Regions from separate parts of the Homo sapiens genome. Here regions 1 and 3 are each linked to region 2. Evidence: promoter capture Hi-C in 16 types of primary human blood cells and fetal thymus (Javierre and others, 2016). All regions are on one chromosome and are shown on one strand. The core of a region is centred on a gene start or on the middle of the fragment in contact, and the rest is flanking DNA. Distances in the headings are between cores, read along the strand shown. Region 1 has its middle 170 kb from the start of SP4. Region 2 holds the start of POLR1F (RNA polymerase I subunit F). Region 3 overlaps SP4 (Sp4 transcription factor).

Region 1 (4,801 bases), core at 133-2,632, 1.6 Mb after region 2:
AATGGAAAGGGGGAGGAAGGAGAGGAGCAGAAAAGATAACTATTGGGTACTGCACTTAATACCTGAGTGATGAAATAACCTGTATAGCAAACCCCCATGACACGACTTTACCTATGTAAAAAACCTTCACATGTACCCCCAAACCTAAAATAAAAGTTAAAAAAGAAAAGAATGATCTTATAAACACAGAGATTAACACTGCTAACATTAAGATATGTATGCTTCCAGATATTTCCTATACACATATACATACTTACAAAAGTGGAATCACACTCTTTCTGCTGTTTCACAGCCTCCTCTATTCACATGGATATAAAAGATATCATGGACATCTTTTCATGTCAGTATGTGTAGATAATAACAGCTCACATCTACTGAGTGCTTACCATGTGCTAGGCACCTTTCTATGCATTTTGCATGAGTTGTTCCATTAATTTCCACAACATCCCTATGAAGTAGGTACTATTATTTCCCCCATTTTTTTAGAAGAGAAAAGAGATTAACTAGTGGCCAACACACAGACCCCACATGTTAATCTCTTGGCTTTTTAAGGGCTATGTTAGATTCTGCTGTATGGACTTACCAACCTTCTTCATTGGTGCGTAGTTCCATGTTTCTGGAAAGAGCAATTTCCAGAAAGAACAACTCCGGTATCCAAACTAGTTGCTTGTGTCCTCTCACATGTAAATATACCTCAAACTATCTCAACTTTGCTGATCCCATTATCTTTTTAGAACTCCCTTCTCCCTCTCCATGTTTTCCTAAAATTTACCCAGATCCACTTTTCAGGACTCCTGAACCTATCTTATCACTGCCACTGAGACACAGCAACTAACTCAGGAGTGACATGCCCAGAATCCAAACCTAAACTGTGCTATGTATCAACCAAGTGACCTTAGGCATGACTTAGTCCACCCAAGCCACATTTTTCTTATCAGTAAAATGAGGATAAAATATCTACCTCACAGAGCTATTTGGTAGTCTCAAATAGCATAGATACGCATGTACCTGGCAAATAGTAAATTCTTAATAAATGTCAGAGAGAAATGCCCCCTTGCTTGAATGAGGACCTCAAGGTCAAAGGGAGAGAAAATAGCAGATCCTACATTGCTATAAAAGACAAACTCCTTTGGGAGGCCAAGGTGGGTGGATCACTTGAGGTCAGGAGTTTAAGACCAGCCTAGCCAACATGGTGAAACCCTGTCTCTACCAAAAATACAACAATTAGCTGGGTGTGGTGGTGGGGGCCTATAATCCTAGCTACTTGGGAGGCTGAGGCAGAAGAATCGCTTGAACCAGGGAAGCAGAGGCTGCAGTGAGCTGAGATTGTGCCACTGCACTCCAGCCTGGGCAACAGAGCGAGAATCAGTCTCAAAAAAAAAAAAAAAAAAAAAAAGACAAACTCAAATTTTAATGCTAGACTTCTGTGTCTAAGAACTTTGAGGATTCCAGGTTATATTATCTTTATCTTGATACACACATATGAAGAAAACCCTAAATGAATCTTTTTCTTGGCTATATTTGAATGGAAATTTTTGGAAAGCAAATTTAAAAGATCAAACAAATATTTATTGGGACAGATTTTTTGCAACCCAATAAAATAAAGCCCTGAGAGAAGGAAGTCTAACAGAGGGCAAAGCAAACTATAATCCCTTGCTGGTCAGTCTTCTTTTTCCTACAAAATGTCTAGGAATACCTATAAATACTAAATTATGAAGATTTGAAAAACATACTCTGGACTCATGCTCCATCACTTGTGCTCAGGGACTGTTTAATTGGAGCCAGTACCAAGATGCTAATTCCAAATTTATTCCTCAAAATGATTTCTGCTCCAAATTTAAGCACCCCTCTTAGTTGGCCCAACTTAGTGAATGTCAGAATTTGAGATGAGAGCTGACTGATGAGACTCCAAGCATGGGATGGTGAGGAAGAGCCAGAGGAATTGGCTAAAACATTAGCACCATGCTTCCAGGCATTCACACTGTGCAAATGCTTCTGCGGTGGGCAGGCCTCCTTATTATCTGCAGGTTCCCAAACCAGGAAGACTGTGAGCCATTCCCCCTCAAAGACCAAAGGCGTGGATGCAAATTTGCCCTTATTGCCCAGAGTGGCAGAAATCACTAGAGCACATGGGCTGAGGCATGGCCACATATACCGATGTGTAAGCCACTTATGTGATGGACAGTTTCCTTTCCTTTTATTTTATTTTATTTTGATACAAGGTCTTACTCTGTCCCCCAGGCTGGAGTGCAGTGGCAAGATCATGGCTCACTGCAGCCTCAACCTCCCTGGGCTCAGGTGATGCTCCTACCTCAGCCTCCCAGATAGCTGAGACTACAGGTGTATGCCATCATGCCTACCTAATTTTTTTTTTTTTTTTTTTGACATGGAGATGAGGTTTCTCTATGTTGCCCAAGCTGGTCTCAAACTCCTAGGCTCAAGCAATCCTCCCACCTTGGCCTCCCAAAATGCTGAGATTACAGGCGTCAGCCATTATGTCTGGCCACCATTTATTTTTGAGAGAGATCCCTGAACCAACACCAAAAATGAAAAATGGCCCCTGTTTGATATTTACCCTTTGGGATTGTCTAGTCGTGATTTAGCCAAGAGGTCTGTCTGTAGCATCTACATCTGCTATCATTCCTGGTCAGGTACATGATCCATGGACCCAACCTTAGGAGTGAAGTTAATTCCGTTGAGTCTAGGTAGTTCTGAGTTTCCACATCATCTCATGCACTTTTCATGAGAACGCCTTTTGCCTGGTATTTAACAGATGAGGCAGCTGAGGTGTAGGTAAAGAGATTTCCCCAAGCTCTCAAAGATGCTCATAAAGTAGCGTAACACACAGAATGAAATAGCTGATCCTCAGACCCAGATCTTCTGATTTTAAGCCCAGGATTTTTTCAGTGATCTGGGAACTGCTTTCCCCATAGATTTTCCAAGTGTTACCAATTACTGCCAGTCCTGGTAGGTCCCTGTGTAATACAAGGAACTTCCATAGTAACAGCCTGCTTGTTTCCTCCACTGGGGATGTTTGAAGCCACTAAAACACACATCAAAACTGACATTTATAACTCCTAGTTTTACAGCCTGTACTTCAGAAAGTGATATGTATCAATCTAGCTACTGACATTTAGGGCTAAAAAAAAAAAACAAACCCTGAGGTAATATGATTGGCCACATTCTGTTTTTTTTTTTTTTTTCCCGATATTGCAACCACTGGACTTAAATAGAAAATGTTCAAAAGACCCCAAATGTCACAGTCAAGAACTGCATCTAATTACTAACCAATTAGGTAACATCGTTGGTCTAACTGGCTCGGAGGGAAAGAAAAATGAAAGCCTCAGGACATAAGCCTACAAGGCATTCCAACTTGGTACTGGGGTTGCAAAGCAGAAGTACTTCCTTTTTTAATCTTTCAGCATTTATACTGTATTCCATCTTTAGAGAGAGAGTTAATTTTTCTGTGCTTAGTTTACTAGTTTGTAGAACTCAGCGACTATCTCTGAATAAGGCATAAGGAAGAAAAGTTTGCCACACAGTACCAATTGGGAAAAGCTAACTTATCATTCAGTAACAGGCACTCCCCAGATCTCAGTGACTTTACATTACAAAGGTTAACTGCTCGCTCACAGAACACATCCATCTCCATTTGACAGGGAACTCTCATTCATGTGGTTCTCACGCTGAGACCTGGCTGACAGCAATATCTGGAATATTCTGGTCACTGTGGCTAAGGGGAAGTAAACTCTGGAGGGGCTCACACCAGCAATACTTTGACCTGGAAGTGACATGTGCTATTATTACCTCCTACATCTCTCTTGTAAGAACAAGTAACATGGCCTTATCCTACCCCACCACAAGAGGGCCAGGCAGTGTGGTCCCACCAGAGCAGAAAGCAGGAAATACTCAATATACCACCCTCATGGCTGGTGGTACTGGGATAAAAATTGCATCTCAGAAAGAAAAAAACAAGTCTCTTTTCAACATATTCTGCTATTCTGATGCTTGCCTTTGACGTTGTCGTTCACGTGAAAACCAAACATTGTAAAATGTGTATGTTAAAGGGAATTTGGAAAATAGAAACACAAATTTTGAGCTATTAATGTTTTGTGAATGTCCATAGTGTAACACCCAAACATCCACACATTCATTCATTCATGAATCTATTCCCCATGCAGATGTTAACTGAGCAATAGACAGATGATGAGGACATGCACAAAGCAGTCCCTTCACTCCTAGAACTGACAGTACCTGGGGGAGATGGCCTGCCATGCACCACTACCACAGTGTGACAGAGGAAGAAGGGGCCAGAAGCACATAGGAGGGGCGCCCAATCCAGTTAGAGCGTCAACAGAGACTGCCGGGAGGATAGTACCCCTAGGCTGAGACATGAGAGAAAGGAAACACATTTTGGTACATTTCCTTTCAGTCTGTTTCCCTCTAAGCCTAGTTTGTTATTTTTACATAATTGTAAGAAAACTGTTTAGCCGAATTTGTATACTGCTGTGCAGAAAACTAGGTCTTTAGAGTTTCACTTTTTAACTCAGAGAAATCCATATGACAACAGTTTCTTACTTCCAATAAAACTTCAGCATATGAACAAAATTTGCAAATGTGGAATTTTATGATGCTGATACAGAAAACATATGTTAACTAAGAATGAGCTTGTATTTTTACTTCTCAGTATTTTATTGCCTTAGCCAGGCTGTCAACCAAATATATAAATTTCAAACATTAAGAGGTACAAATCAACCCACTAAAATATCTGTCAGAGCTTTCTGCATTAATCAACTGTGAT
Region 2 (4,627 bases), core at 579-3,078:
GTAAATGTTGTTTCTTAAACTGCAAATCTGATATGCCAGGGACTGCAGAGAAGTACTAGTTTCTCAAAAGTGTGCCAAGTCTCAGCGTTAAAGGGACTGAGAGGACGGAGCACTAACCCTGCTTAAGAAAACAGAAACACAAAAGGAAAAACAACAACAACCCCACCTTACCCCCAAAATAACAAAAACTGGCAATGGCAGGAAGGGAAAAGCAAAATGGCCATCCTCTCTGAGTCATCTTTGACCCCCTGCCCTCCTCTCCAATGGCATCCAATGCCTTTCCCCTGACATAAACCTTATTCTACTTATATAATAGATACAGTTCTCTGGGCAAAGCATACCAGTTCACATCCAGTATCCGTTTGTTTATGCCACTCTCTTTGCCTGGAATGTTACCATGTTAAAGTACCCTCTTCAATCAAGTTGTTCTCAAAGGTCCCAAGATCCAAATTCTACACTCCTTATCTTATTAGATTTCTGTCAAATTTTAACACTTTACTATTTATTGGCTTGTATTTGTATCTCTCCTACAGCTTAAAGCTCCTTGAAACAGAGATTTTATTTTTTGTTTTTGTATCTCAAGTGTTCGGTATGTAATATAAACATACAAGAAGTGTATATTGGTGCTTGGAAGAATCTGCAGATTCTAGACATGGGTGGAGGTCCAGGATCCCTTAAGAAACTGATAAAAACTTCCGATGCAGTGCCCAAGGAACTTCACATAGGAATTCCTGAAGGGCAATCATGAATCCCTAGAGAATCCATTCCCTCTAGTTTTAGAACCCCGCTTTTAAACCAAAGTATAGTCCAGAGGAATACTCAAGCACATGCCCGCGCCCCCCGCCCCACACCTCTGTAATTCTAAGTTTTCAAGTCACTTTTGAATACCGTAATATAAATGCATACGTTTTGGTTTTTTCTCTCCCCAAAGCAACAGGCTCACTAGTTCGACTGAATAAATCTTCTTAAAAACAACAAAATCCCGCTAAACTAATGGCATTTTCATAATCCCCAGATCAGGTCCAAGAGAAGAGAAAATGGGGAAATTACCAGAGCGAAATCCAACAACAAAAAAGGTCCTTCATGTTTTACAAATAGAACGGTTGTACTAATGCTTCGTATGCTATCTTCTATGGAATGAGAATCTACTCAAGCACTGCAAACCAGATTTTTATCGTCAAATGAGAAAGCATCATCCGTAAGGGGATAAATGAAACGTTGAATGCCAAACAGAACTGGGCCTACTAGGTCTCCAGATCCCTGGTCTTTTCCTACCCCTACACCAGGGTTCTGGAGCAAGAATCTCCACTCCCTCCGCCCACACCTGAACTTCATCTTTAAGTTTTCTTCTCTATCTATGAAAGGGACCCTGTATAGATCTTTACCAGAGCGGTACTGGCCTTGAGGGACGGATCGCGACTCTAGAAATCCAGGGGGCTAAGCTCTGGGGGGCAATGCGACCTTTGCCATTTGCCCCTTTCTGCTGCGTCGTCAGCACATCCACCTGCTTTACTTCCCGTGCACAAAAGAAGGAACAGGCAAAGAGATCGGTACCTCTCAGAATAGCGAAGGAGCTCCGCATCAAGCTGTTCTCGAATGCCGGTGCGTTTCCTGTTAAGGTAGCGGGGCGACAGCGCGATGTGCCTTTGGTGCGGCCCGGCCACCAGGCATGAGTAGCGACTGTTCACCAGCGCACAAGCAGCGGCATAAGTCGGCAACTCTAGGCAAGGCAGGACGCCAGCCTGCCCTACCAGAGACCCATCAGAAGCCGCCGCTGGCCGCGGCGCCTCTGAGCAACCTGCAGCCATGCTGCTTGTCAAGGTTCCCACGGCGCGCGCCGTTGACGCAAGCACAATCCCATGTCCCCGGCGCTCGTTTTACGCCATCCACCAACGACCACGCCCCTAGGAATTTCCCCTCTTTTCGCTGCATTACGCAGCCCTGACCAGCAGGGGGAACCGCGTTTTCGCGCTTCGAGAACGGGAGCTTAGAGCCTCGGAAATGCATTGAGCACGCAGGAAAGCCAACCGACTGCTCTTTTAAGGGCAGGCAAATGTGTGTTTTCGCACAGAGGCTTATTGGATTAAGTAGGTAGCTTAAAAATGGGGGTTCTCACTTTGATCATTTCCAGTAGTGAGGTGGGTTTGGTAGAATTTTACAGGCTTGGACTGTACAATAAAAAATCAAAATATTTATGGAGTATATTTTATGCAGTACACGGAATCCTAAGCAGGCCTGATAATTGTAATGCAACGCATCTGAAAACGAACCCACTAGTTCTCTCCTGTCCCGCTTCTCTTCTCATTATGCAACTGCTAAATCAGGGAATCATACAGCCAAGCTGTCAGCCTCGGATCCTCTTTTGTATCCCCAAGTATCAAATCAGCCTGAAGACCTGTATTGCCCAAAGTGGAAATATCATTCTATTTGGACACTATTCTCTTTCCCTGCCGCCAAAACCGCAGGACTCCCTGCCTGTGGAAGCCTAGCTCAATGGTCAGGAGGACACTCTGGGGCAGCCAGATCTTCCCTGAAATACATATGATCGTGTTGTGCCCTGTTTAAGCCCTACATAGGCACCCCATTTTCTCTAGGACAACACAAACTCATGAAAATGGCTTATAAGTTACAAGGCCATTTTGTGATCTGCGTGGGCACACAGCCTCTCTCTTCAGCTTCATTTGTCACACTCCCCACCCTAATATTATCATGCTGCTTGATCTACTTTCAGGTCTCTCTTTGTGCAGTCTCACGCTGTTCCTTCCACCAGGGAATATAATAGCATTTTTCACAAGGGTAAATTCTACTCATGTATGAATTTCTAGCTTAGATTTTACATTCTATACCTTTGCAAAGAGTTTTCAAGCACCCCACTCCTCTTTCTCTATAAGGATTAGGTAGTTACCCATCTATGTTGGTTTTTATGTTAATTTTTTATTAACTGTCTTTGCTTGCCTGTTCCATCAATAGATTCCTACACTCACTAAAGTGGGGACCATAATATCTGTATTGTTCACTACAGTAGCCCCCCACAATTTATCCCTCCTCCAAAGAAACGAAACCAAGAAAAACCCAACCAATACATCTTGAATGAATAACCTGATAGTGAGTTAATAAATAATAAGTGATAAAGAGCTCACAGCCTAAGTGGAAGTGGGATCTAAACATAAACATATAACAGGTTATGCTGGATAAGTGCCAAGAGAAATGTATAGCAGTGATGTGAGTATTAACATACTCCCTCATCTCCTAAATACTGCAAAAAGCCTCTTAGCCTCTCTAAACCTGATTTCTGACTTGTAAAATACGAAAAATAATACTTGCCCTGCTACCTTAGAGAGATGATAGGAGGGTCAAACAAGATAAATAAAAGGCATTTTCTTTAATATTCCTTAAATAACTGCAAACTCAGCATGAGATGATAGTGGGATGAGACTGCCCCCAAAACCTAATAGTAGACACTTTTAAGTCCATAAATGGGAAACATAATGGCTTTTACCTTCATTTTGTTGCAAAGTCCTGTGATACCCCTGTGCAGGACCCTTTTGTTCAATGTGCTCAAACTTGGCTAAACAATGAAGTCACCTAAGGTGAGGAGCTTTAAGAACTCCTGATGCCCGGATGACATCACAGATCAATTCAATCAAAACCTCTCCAGGTGACTACACCTTACAGTCAAGATGGATCTAGACTGGCTGTAAGTGATTTGAATGAAAACAATTTGGCCAAGAAAGAATTTAGTAAAAAACAAGCTGGACATCATGACAATTTGATCAAAACAAAACGTTACCTGAAATCAAATATTCCAGTAATAATCTTTCACAACTAGTAAATGTAGTGCACCCATGCAGTAGTTTTGTAACCCTAGGTATGTCCAGTTGCAGTTAGAAGTTTGCTTGTTTAAATTTTGAAACTGATTTTCTCATTTTCAGTTTTAAAAATTCTGACTTGATCATTAGCTGCTATCCATGCTCTGCATGATTTGAGAGCGAACAAGGTGATTCTGCCTGCATGCCAGTGTTCACCATTGTGGGGTTACTTTACAAATTAACCTGCTCCACCTTCGACACAGGGAAGAAAACAGAAATAACCATGAGTTCCTCCTACCTACCCTACCCTGCAGACATATACAAAGTTTATTTGTTCAAAGACCTGTAGTTGAACTGAACCATTTTATTTTTCTCTAAAATTTGTCCAAGTTCCACAAAAAGTAAGGCATTGGTGGTCCCTGTCTCATGAAAAGCTCTGTCAAGTCAAAGGCAATGTGCTGAGAAGATCTTCATTCTACAAGGAGGAGAAAGAAAGTTAGAAATAATTTTGACCCCATGACCAATGGCCTCAGAGGAAGAGAGAGAAAATTTCCTGTGCAACTGTCTGTATTATTTTATCACTGACCTTGCCACCTCCAGCATGCACACACATATACCTTATTATATTAGTGTGTTTCTATTCCTCACAATCAGATAATCCCTGGAGCAACATAAATGTGCAAAAATTGGTGGTTTGCTGAAATAAATAATGGTGGTTACAAAGTAATATGTGACATATGCTCTGATTGTTACAGAACACATGCACATTTATATGCTTAGAAAAAAATCATGGGGCACATGATTGTATTCATGCATCT
Region 3 (4,246 bases), core at 549-3,048, 1.8 Mb after region 2:
CTGCCTCCACCTTTGTACAGAGAAATCCCAGGTTCCTCCTGTCAGAACCTAGCTAGACCCTGGAATAAGATACCAAGACCAGGCTTGCCAACTGTGGCTTGGCATAGAGTTTGTGTTTGACCTGGGGTCAGGGCCTTGTCTACACACTTTTTTTTTTTTTTTTTTTTTTTGAGACAAGGCCGTGCTCTGTCATCCAGGCTAGAGTGCAGTGGCTCACTGTAGCCTCAACATTTGCATTACATGTTGATTTATATAATTAATGGATGGTGTTGCTTATTATCGATTGATTGTGAATCTGGCCACGACAAATTTATTCTAATTGTTTATTTTCTCAGATTATTTATGTAAATAGTAATAACTGTAAATAATAATCTATTTCAATTTTTTTCTTCCAGTGATTGTACCTCAGTTCATTTTACTGTCTTATATGTTGGCTTCGTCAGAATGTTTCATATTATGTTGAAAATAGTAATGATATATATAATAGCATTCTTATCTTGTTCCTGATGTATAAAGTAATAGTTCAGAAGTTTCTCCATTAATTATATGTAGGGGTATAGCAGGTAAAAGAAATAAATTTTTATTCCTGGTTTGCCAAGAGCTCTTATCAAAATGTGTTAAATTTTATCACACTGTTTTTATGCTTCTGTTGACCTTTTTTTTCTCTCCTTTAACTTTATGGAATCTTAAGTCATACAAAGTATTTTATTTTTGTGTAGTCAGATTTGTCTATTCTCTCTTTTATAGTTTCTAAATAACCTGTTGTACTTTTTAAAGTACCTTCAAACTCTAGGTTATAGAAATATTTTCCTTTTTTTTTAATACTTGGTTTTAAATCTTTGTAGCATGTATCTTGGTGTGTGGTATGACATGGAGGTGCATCTTCTTTGTGTTACTTCAGATGGATGTTTAATACAATATTGTATTGAGTGCAGTGCTCCTGTAAGTTTTAATATTTGTTTGTAACAATAATAAGGAAGACTAATGGTTTTTTCAAAGTTTACTCAAAAGTAAAAGCACACACGTAAAGAAAAAGAGAATGTAAAGAAAAAGAGAGAATATCTGACGTGGACCAACTTGAGCCTATAGATTTTTTTTATTGGTAAGTCAAAAGCAGGGCCAAGAAAAGAAATTATCCAAATTGAATTTTCTCATTATATTAGTCTGTTTTCATGCTGCTGATAAAGACATACCTAGACTGGGCAATTTACAAAAGAAAGAGGTTTAATTGGACTTACAGTTCCACATGGCTGGGGAGGCCTCACAATCATGGTGGAGGGCAAAGAGGAGCAAATCACATCTCGTGTGGATGGTGGCAGGCAAAGAGAGAATAAGGAAGACACAAAAGCAGAAATCCCTGATAAAACTATCGTATCTTGTGAGGCTTATTCTCAAGAACAGTATGGGGAACCCACCCCCATTATTCAGTTATCTCCCACTGGGTCCCTCCCACAACATGTGGGAATTATGGGAGCACAATTCAAGATGAGATTTGGATGAGGACACAGAGCCAAACCCTATCACTTATTACCCAAGTTTTATCAGACTGGGAAAACAACATTTCAGTCCCTTAAGTAACAATTTTAGAGGGAAGATCTACGGCTAACAGTTATTCATTGTGCACATCAGGATAAACCAGTTAACCAAATTTTGATATGCCTCATTTATTATACACAAAAACAAAAAGGCCTTTTTGTTTTTAGTTAACATTAAACTAGCTTTTATTCCAAAACAAAGAAGTCGGTCCAGTAAAACTATCTTATATTTTGAAGAAAACATATTTAAGAATTGCTTTGGACAACAGAAACTGTTATCTTATGAAACCTAAAAACTTTATTAAATTCTGAATGTAGCATGTGCCTGCCTCCCATTTTTGCCTTGTAAAGAACTCAGTATGCTATTAAATTATTAACTTAGTTTATTTGAAATAGTTCCAAGATATTTCATGCCTCCAAGATTAAAACTAAAACCCAGGTTAGCAGTTTTGAAGAAGAGTGGACATGAGCCTTGAACATTATATATATTTGTTACATCTGATAGAGATATTTTAAATTGTCTGCTAAAAACCCTCTTGCTTTGTAGATGGGAAAACTGAGAGTTCCAGTGGCTATTTACTTGCTCCAGCTTTTATTTCCAGTTCATAGCAGAAGCAGGACTTAAACTTCAGGTCTTTTCGTCTCAATCACATGGTCTTTCTCTTTGCATTGTGTATTTGATAACGTTTTTAAATAAAACAAAGCATTTTGCAACTAGTGAAACTGTACAAAAAGTCATATAATGTGACCAGAAGGGAGATTATTAAAAATTATAATTTCACTTAAGCAAAATGTGTATAACGCCATTTACTGTTTTTCTATGTAGGTGAAAAGAGATTTGAATGCCCGGAATGTTCTAAAAGGTTTATGCGGAGTGATCATCTCTCCAAACATGTCAAAACGCACCAGAATAAAAAAGGTGGTGGGACAGCTCTTGCCATTGTTACCTCGGGAGAACTGGACTCATCTGTTACAGAGGTGCTTGGCTCCCCAAGAATTGTCACAGTTGCAGCCATTTCTCAAGATTCGAATCCAGCAACTCCCAATGTTTCAACCAACATGGAAGAATTCTGAAAAGTTATTTATAACAGAGACCTCTAGTGCTGCACTTGTTTACACACCTTTGAAAATCTGGAAATGGGCTGGTCAAGTGGATTACAGAGTAGGAAATTATGTTTTCATTCTTGGCTTCTTTAAGTATTCCAGGGTTTGGGGTCAACACGTGAAGTGTTGAATTTTAAAAAATACAAAAAGCAGACTGATGTACTGGAAACAGAAAAGTATTTCCTCCATACTATAAGTTGTAGTTGTTTGGAAATATATCACATAACCTTTATACAGAATCTTCCCATCTCTTAATATCATGTGTTAACATGTTTAAAAAGACCTTAGTAGTTTGCAGGCTGGACCTTAATTGGACTTATTTTCTTTGAAAGTACTTTGTTATAAATTCAGTCAGTAATAATTTACGTGTATTCTTTTTCTCTATAGCACAGAAAACAGATAGTTAACTGATGATAGGGATAATACTGTATTTCCTTAGCTTGATTTTTGGAAAATCAACCGAAAATAGTTTGGCCGTCTTTTCTAAATGTTAGAAATTCTTCAACAGTTGAATTAGGTAAGTTCCAAAACAGTAATCTGAGATGCATCTCAGATCTTTATTACCACTACATTATAGTAGTGTGTATGCAGACAATCAGTGAAGTCCAATTACTTTCTCCATTTGGAGACACAAGAGGAACATAGAGTTAAATCTTAGGTTAAATTTTAGGTTGACACCTTAGGAAAATGCTGGGAAAAAAATGGTTAAAACAAAACTCATCATAGCTTCAGAAAAATAAAATGAGGCATCTTAACATGCAATGTTCTAAAGTTAGGATTGATTATATTCCTAACCCTAGGTTGAACCACAAAATTTCATTTAAAATGTTTATATTTGGAAATATTTGCATAGAGTGTAAATTGTTCTGTAGTTTCATATTTTGTAAATATGAGTTATGTTGACAATGTGCAGAATTCTTTATGCTTTGATGTGGTAGCCAAAGAAAGAATTACACTTTTTTCCAAGGCCAGCAGAAAATTCTCTTTTAACTACATTGTAATTCTTGTTTTCCTCTACTAAAAATTGGCCAGTCCCATTTTATTTCTAGTGCTATGTAAGAAGGTAATTAGGAATTATAACACAGTAATGTTTTTATGTTACATCAATAACTGAATTTTCCCTAAAAATTAGCCTAATATATAATAGATATATTATGAAGCAAAACTTTTATTTTTGAAAAGGCAGAATAATTTTCAGTGAAGTAAGTGACTAAAGAAAAAAACTATATTATTGTTTATGCAAGGGTCTTACAGGAAAGGGTCTTTTTTTTTTTTTTTTTGAGATGGAGTCTCGCTCTCTTGCCCAGGCTGGAGTGCAATGGCACGATCTCAGCTTACTGCAACCGCCGCCTCCCAGGTTCAAGCGATTCTCCTGTCTTAGCCTCCTGAGTAGCTGGGATTAACAGGCGCCTGCCACCATGCCTGGCTAATTTTTGTATTTTTAGTAGAGACAGGGTTTCGCCATGTTGGCCAGGCTGGTTTCAAACTCCTGACCTCAGGTGATCTGCCCACCTCGGCCTCCCAGAGTGCTGGGATTACAGGCATGAGCCACCATGCCCGGCTAGGAAAGGGTCTTACTAGGAAAGATGGCCAAAAGTTTCATATGA

The links. The method cuts DNA at HindIII sites, captures the fragments that hold promoters and counts their contacts. A CHiCAGO score of 5 or more calls a contact.
Region 1: a fragment that was not itself captured here is called in contact with the fragment with the promoter of POLR1F in region 2 in 1 of 17 cell types (M2 macrophages); the score reaches 6.3 in M2 macrophages.
Region 3: a fragment that was not itself captured here is called in contact with the fragment with the promoter of POLR1F in region 2 in 1 of 17 cell types (M2 macrophages); the score reaches 5.2 in M2 macrophages.

Annotation. Positions count from the first base shown.
Region 1 is chr7:21,258,074-21,262,874 of GRCh38, forward strand. No RefSeq gene overlaps it. Among named protein-coding and RNA genes, the nearest start is that of SP4, 170 kb to the right of the region's middle. RefSeq lists an enhancer at 3,243-3,968. The HindIII fragment of the contact is 7,026 bases long and covers 1-4,801 here.
Region 2 is chr7:19,707,209-19,711,835 of GRCh38, forward strand. POLR1F (RNA polymerase I subunit F) reads right to left here and starts at 1,829. Exons shown (of 4, transcript NM_001002926.2): 1 at 1,555-1,829. The coding sequence starts at 1,808. RefSeq lists enhancers at 953-1,557, 1,522-1,591, 1,558-2,160, 1,702-1,981. The HindIII fragment of the contact is 8,345 bases long and covers 1-4,627 here.
Region 3 is chr7:21,508,661-21,512,906 of GRCh38, forward strand. SP4 (Sp4 transcription factor) reads left to right here. Exons shown (of 6, transcript NM_003112.5): 6 at 2,362-4,246. The coding sequence ends at 2,609. Among named protein-coding and RNA genes, the nearest start is that of DNAH11, 32 kb to the right of the region's middle. The HindIII fragment of the contact is 5,640 bases long and covers 1-4,246 here.